Regions from separate parts of the Homo sapiens genome. Here region 2 is linked to region 1. The links are contacts of gene promoters, found by promoter capture Hi-C in blood cells and fetal thymus (Javierre and others, 2016). All regions are on one chromosome and are shown on one strand. The core of a region is centred on a gene start or on the middle of the fragment in contact, and the rest is flanking DNA. Distances in the headings are between cores, read along the strand shown.

Evidence for each region. The method cuts DNA at HindIII sites, captures the fragments that hold promoters and counts their contacts. A CHiCAGO score of 5 or more calls a contact.
Region 2: the fragment with the promoter of KPNA6 here is called in contact with the fragment with the promoter of LCK in region 1 in 1 of 17 cell types (naive CD4 T cells); the score reaches 5.6 in naive CD4 T cells.

The regions. Positions count from the first base shown.
Region 1 is chr1:32,249,590-32,253,013 of GRCh38, reverse strand. LCK (LCK proto-oncogene, Src family tyrosine kinase) reads right to left here and starts at 1,749. Exons shown (of 13, transcript NM_005356.5): 1 at 1,643-1,749. RefSeq lists enhancers at 2,397-2,486, 2,537-2,746, 2,937-3,146. The HindIII fragment of the contact is 1,623 bases long and covers 227-1,849 here.
Region 2 is chr1:32,106,469-32,109,932 of GRCh38, reverse strand. KPNA6 (karyopherin subunit alpha 6) reads right to left here and starts at 1,877. Exons shown (of 14, transcript NM_012316.5): 1 at 1,799-1,877. The coding sequence starts at 1,802. RefSeq lists enhancers at 1,147-1,664, 1,622-2,051, 1,665-2,183. The HindIII fragment of the contact is 1,772 bases long and covers 389-2,160 here.

The DNA.
Region 1 (3,424 bases), core at 500-2,999:
ATGGTCCAGCGGAATTGTGACTGGGTCGGCCTGTCTCTGAAATGCACATTCTCTGCTCCACACCACACCTGTGGGCTCTCTGGCCTTTGGTCTTGCTCTGAGGTCTCTGCCCTCGTGGTACCCAAGGAACAGAATCCAGGGATAGTGACCTTGGCTTCATGTCCTACGCACTCTTGAAAATGGGTCTTTCTCCTTCTCAGAACTGTCTTGACTCTTGCAGGAAGCTTTCCAGATCTTAAGAGACACCTTCTCCCCTCCTCTGAACCAATGCTCAGCCTGTTCTTGGCCCTTGTCCACTTGGCCCTTCTCTCTTTGAGAAGAGCCTCTGTTCCTGGGGCCCAAGAGCAAGGGACCCTGTCTGATTCGTCTGTCAGCATAGGGCTGGGTGGAAGGAACTGCTCATGCCTGTCCAGGGTGAATGACCCTCCCTGAAGTGCGAGGAGAGCCACCATGTTCCCTAGCCCCCACAAGAGGCTACAGGACTTGGAGCTGTAGACAGGAGAAAGGCTGGGACCAGCTGACTAGGCGGAAAGTGTGTGTCAAGAAAAACTCCAACGAAGCAGGGGAAACCTGGAAATCTGGCTGAGTGAGGACTTCCCAAAAAAATTAAGGCTCAGAGTTAAAAAGTGAGGAGGTGAGCAGGTAGCAACTATGCCTCCCCAGTCTCTCTCCACCTCCCTGGGGTTTGAAGCAGGAATCAGCAAAACCAACTGGCCCTACACAGGCAGGGCTGAAGCGGGAGGGAGCCAGGGGCGAGGGGAGGACATCCTGCTGTGACGCTTGGCAGGGGCAGGAATGGTGACTTTCCAGATGGAAGTTCAGCGCTTCCTCACCCAGGACCAACTGCACCCCTGTCTGGGATAAAAATAGTACTTCCTCTTCCTTTCTCCCATCATTCTCTTTCACTTCCAACTTCCCATACTCAGATCAGATATGTCCATCCACCCTGGAGCTCCATCCCAGATGATGGACACCCCCACACATATCAGTTCACGCCCATCAGGAGATTCTTCCCTCGATCGCTGAGGCTAAAATCACTCCTCGCATGTCCATCTGGATGCCTTGGGTGATCTCTGTCTCTCTCTCTCTCTCTCTCTCTCTCTCTCTCTCTCTCTCTCTTTCTCAGGAGATTCTTGTCACTGGGGTCTGCCCCAGAAACCAGAAGGATTCCTGGGTCCTCTGAGTCCAGCCTGTCCATCACCCTGCTCCAGGCGGGGTGGCCACAGCCTCAGCCATCACTCTCAGCCCTGCCACTGCCTTGCTGAGAAACCGTGGGCAGTGAGTGCCTTGTTCTCTCTGGGCCTCAGGAGCCTCATCCTCATGGCCTGAGGGACTGGGCTTGGTGGTTTCTGGAAGCCTTTTTAACACCTGACTGTCCATGTGCCTGGTGTCCAGGAAACACGCTCCCAGTCAGGTGGGGCCACTGGTGGACAGCACGACAGAGGCAAGCGACACCAGCTTCGCAGGAAAGAGGCGACCCAGCTACACTGCCTGCCTCCCACCTGACCTTGAGCGAGGATCTTCTCTCCCCAGCCACAAAGGGCTGCTGCATCCCTAGGGAGCCTGGGCCCGCACAGCTGCAGCCGTCTGCTATCAGGCCTCTCACCCCGGCGCCTGCGCCCCCAATACCAGCGCTCCTTACCTGCCCAGCCCGGGAGCCCTCTGGCCCCATTCACATGGTCCTCCTGGCCTAACCTGGCTGCCTGGACAGTCTCAGCTCCCTTCGCCGTCGTAGCCACCACCTGTCTCCCCGCGCCCACGTCCCACCCTGACTTCCTGCCTCCTCCGGAGGGCTCCGCAGCCAACCGGGCCCCAGCAGCCCAACCACAACCCTCTAGCACGCCAAGCTTCCTGCCACCATAGACCCCTGCCTCTCAGCCCCTGGGGGTCCCCTACATCTCCAGACCAGGTCCATCTTCCCCTACTGTCCCAGGGTGACACTGGGAGGTTTAAAGTTGAGGGGAGGATGTCTGATAGACCCTCCCTTCTGCCCTCCAGGGTGCATCTGGGCAAGAGATTCAAGGGCAGCCTTTGGGCCCAGTGAGCAGGGGGCAAGCGGACACACACTCAGCTTATGGTGAGAGGCAAACAGCACCTCAGCACCACCGTTGCAGCTGAGAGACCCTTTTGTTTCTGTCTGGCAGCAAAGGTAGCATCGTTCAGAGTCAGAGGAGAGGACAATATCCCTGTTAAATAGCTGGTGAGCAGACCATGCATGTTACAGTCAGGTCAGGCCGAGAGAACAATTCCCATGTCATCTCAGGGCATGGAACAGTAGCTTTATTATAGTCAAGGGTAGGTGAATGGCAGGCTACCATCCCTCTTACAGACAGAATGCTGGAAAACAGCCTGTTTCAGGAGGCAGACAGGACAACCTCATGTCTTCAAGAGGGCATAGTAACGGCCCCTGCTGTAGTCAGAGGCCAGGACAACACCCATTAATCATGGTTGGAGAGTAGGGCAACAGTTCGAATTCAGGTAGAGGCAAGGCCACAGCCCCTGGCAGAGGTGGAGGGCTTGGCACTATCTCCTGCAACAGGTGGAAGACAGAGCAAACAGGGCCGCTCAGGCCCCCAGGTGCAGGCCACAGACTGTCAGGACTTTCTGTTATAAGCAGGAGGCAAGAAGATTGTCACGAGCAGCAGGCAGGCAAAGAATTTCCATTTCCCCTGGGGCCAGGCTGAGGGGGCACCCATCATTAGCTGAGGGCCAGGTCACCAGTGATATGAGGAACTCCAGGTGGCCTCATCAGGTCCAAGAACTCGGCCTTGACCCCACCAGGAGGAAAGTGCACATGCGTCACTGCCTGAGTGAGCTGGTAGGGGGAGGGGAACCCACAGAGCATTGTTGGGGCTTGTGAGGTGGAAGCGATGCTGTGTGCACCTCAGCTGCAGAGAGAAGTGGGGGCAGGAAATAGGTGGGGGGAAGAGGAAGCCTGAGTTGGAAAGTCAGACAAAGAGGGTAACACAGAAACAAAGGCTGAGAGAGACAAAGTGAAAAACCTTCACAGTGACACAGAGCCTAGAGTTGGAGCTCCAAGCCTGGTGCAGGGCCCAGACTCCCTTGCAATGTAAGCCTGAACACTTCACGGTCCATCTCCCTGTCTCAGCACAGAGTAGAAAGACTGCCGCGCTGGGAGTGAGTAATAGTTCATATTCACTGAGCGCTCACTGTGCACTATCTCCCGTAAGGCACATCTGCTGCCTGTGGAGTGAGAATCAGCATCTCCATTGTGGAGGTGAGGAAACAGACTCAGGGGTTAAGGGAGCTCCTCAGGGTCGAATAGAAATAAACGGTGGCTCAGGCCTGTAATCCTAGCACTTTGGAAACCCCAGGCAGGTGGATCACTTGAGGTCAGGAGTTTGAGACCAGCCTGGCCAACATGCTGAAACCCTGTCTCTATTAAAAATACAAAAATTAGCCG
Region 2 (3,464 bases), core at 628-3,127, 140 kb after region 1:
TTGTAATCTCAGCACTTTGGAAGGCGAGGCGGGAGGATCACGAGGTCAGGAGATCAAGACCATCCTGGCTAACACGGTGAAACCCCGTCTCCACTAAAAATACAAAAAAATACAAAAAAAATTATCCAGGCGTGGTGGCGGGCACCTGTAGTCCCAACTACTCGGGAGGCTGAGGCAGGAGAATGGCGTGAACCCGGGAAGGTGGTAGTTGCAGTGAGCCGAGATCGCGCCAATGCACTCCAGCCTGGGCAACAGAGCCAGACTCCGTCTCAAAAAAAAAAAAAAGATTTCATAATGGGCCCACATGCAAAAACAAAAAGCAAAACAAAACAAAATAAACAAACAGAAAACCCAAACACATTTACAACTTTGCCTAGGGTTAAAAGCTTTTTTCCCCTTTTCTCCCTGCCCAACCACTAGAGGGCCAGGTCATTTAAAAAAAAAAACAAAACAAAAAAACAGGCTGGACGCAGTGGCTCACACCTGTAATCCCAGCACTTTGGGAGGCCGAGGCAGGCGAATCACTTGAGGTCAGGGGTTCGAGACCAGCCTGGCCAACATGACGAAACCCTGTCTCTACCAAAAACACACAAAAATCAGCCGGGCGTGGTGGTGGGTGCCTGTAATCCCAGCTACTCGGGAGGCTGAGGCAGGAGAATCGCTTGAACCCGGGAGGCAGGAGGTTGCAGTGAGCCGAGATCGCGTCACTGCACTCCAGCCTGGGCGACAGAGCAAGACTCTATCAACAACAACAACAAACAGCAGTTACAAACTAGGCTTGGGAGTGTTCACCCTGGCTTAGCCACTGCATGACCTTGGGTAAGTTACTTTACCTCTCTAAAGCTCAGCTTCCACATCTGTAAAATGGCAATGGTAGCATCTATTTCCTTAGGTTGTACAAATTAAGTAAAACAAGACATGTAAAGCAATCAGAACAATGCCCGTACGTAGAAAGAGCTTAGCAAATTTCACAATTTTTACTGCTTTAGAGGAATTACCACTGTTGGTTCTGTCTCTAAATCCAAAGACTTCGCCATGGTATTCTCTCTGAACAGAGGCCTTGCCAGCCGGAGTCCCCTCAGAAAGATCAACAGGTCGCTCCTTTTCTCCTTACCAGGGCCAGCCCAGAAACCTAAAGTCCTCAACCTAAAGATGGCCAAGAGGACTTGGCCTTTGGTGTTCTACCATCACAAGCGATGCCACTCTGAGCCCAACCGAACCACACTATTTCCGCCTTGATTCCGTTCTCCCGGCCTTCAGCGGCGCAAGCTGCCCTCGGCCTGGCTGCCCATGCTTACCGGCCTAGTGCTGGCTCGCCTGACGTCCCCTCACTAGAGGACTCCACCTCGCTACGTAGGTAGGACTTCCCTGAGTTCAGGGGAGCCACTGAATCTAGTCAAGACACGCGTTGGCCAAACACAACCCAGGAGAAAGCTACCTTAGCGCCGCCCAGGCCTGCCGCCGGGAGCCCGTCCCCCAGCCCCAGTCTGGGCGCAGGACAGAGAGTAGGCCCCTTTCTACCTCCCAGGAACACGTGGGCTCCTGCCCGAGGCCACCATGTGGGGGGCTCCAGGCGTGCCAAGGTGTCCCCGAAACCAGCACCAAAGGACTGCTTCCAGCACGGGCCCTAGCTCGGCCCAAAACTGGCAAGAGGGGCACTCCCGGCCTGACTTTTCCCCTCAGACCTAGCTAGAGGGGATGCAGACATCTTCCGCAGACCGGAGACAGGCTCTCGCCAAATCCCAGGCCCCGACACTCCCTGAGCCCAAGAACCCTACTGCGTGGTTTCCTCACTCACCCATCGCGGGTCCGCTCGCTCACTCTTGGCGGCGGAGGCAACGGCGGCAGCTTCAGCGGCAGCTTTCAGTAGACAATATGGCGGATCTGTAGGACGGCAGCCCGAAAGGGACAAACCAGTTAACTCCAGGACGAAACGCTTTATTGGCCCAATCGCCTATCATTACACCGAAAGTGCGCACTTAAAGAGACCGCAGCTACTAAAGGTGGGGAGTGGAAATGAAATAGGAAAGGAGTGGTTGGGAGGAGACTGGAAGGGATACCTAAGAAAGTTAAGTGTGTCTAGGAGTTCCCAGCTGTTTCTGCTACTATTTCTTTTTTATAGTGAGATTTCTTTACCCGGAACTTTTTCTCCCAGAAGCTTATCCCTCCTTTTTTTTTTTTTTTTTTTTTTTTTTTTTTTGAGACGCAGTCTCGCTCTTGTCCCCCCAGGCTGGAGTGCGATGGCGCGATCTCGGCTCACTGCACACTCTGCCTCCCGAGTTCAAGCGATTCTCCTGCCTCGGCCCCCCGAGTAGCTGGGATTACAGGCGCCTGCCACCACGCCTGGCTAATTTTTGTATTTTTACTAGAGACGGTGTTTCAACCATGTTGGCTAGGCTGGTCTTGAACTCCTTACCTCAGGTGATCCGCCCGCCCCCAAAGTGCTGGGATTACAGGCTTGAGCCACCGCTCCGGGCCAGTTTATCCCTTCTTCTAATAGTTGAAACCAATCGGCTGGGCGCTGTGGCTCACGCCTGTAATCCCAGCACTTTGGGTAGGCCGAGGCGGGCGGATCACCTGAGATCAGGAGTTCGAGACCAGCCTGCCCATGGTCTCTACTAAAAATACAAAAATTAGCTGGGTGTGGTGGCGCATGCCTGTAATCTACTTGGGAGGCTGAGGCAGGAGAATTGCTTTAACCCGGGAGGCAGAGGTTGCAGTGAGCCGAGATTGTGCCACTGCATTCCAGCCTGGGAGACAAGAGCAAAACTCCGTCTCTAAAAACAAAAACAGCAATCATAGACCTTGGGCTGAATATGAACAACGAATCATCTAGAGAGGGGAAGTGCCTTGCTCAATGAGGCTATGGAGAGAAGGAAACAAAGAAGTAAGACTAAACTCAGGTTTTCTGATTAGGCCTACGTAGGTAGCCCTAGTTGAGGTTGCAATCTTATTGGGAGATGAGAAATAGAAAAATAGGGCTGGGTGTGGTGGTTCACGCTTGTCTATAATCCTAACACTTTGGGAAGCTGAGGCCAGAGAATCACTTGAGGCCAGGAGCTCAAGACCAGACTGGGCAACACAGTGAGACCCCATCTCCACAAAAAATAAATTAAAAGAAAAAAATTAGCCAGGCATGGTAATGAGCACTTGTACTTGGGCGGCTGAGGCGAGAGGATCACTTGAGTCCGGGAGGTCAAGGCTGCAGTGCCATGACTGTGTCACTATACTCCAGGTTGGGTGATAGAGTGAGACCCTGTCTCTAAAAAAAAAAAAAAGAGAGAGAGAGAGAGAGAAAGAAATGGGCTGGACATGGTGGCTCATTCCTGTAATCCCAGCATTTTAGGAGGCTGAGGCGGCAGATTGCTTGAGCCCAAGAGTTCGAGACCAGCCTGGGCAACATAGCAAGATCCCCCGTCTCTAAAAAAAAAAAAGAAAAACAATGAGACCCATGCAGTATAGTT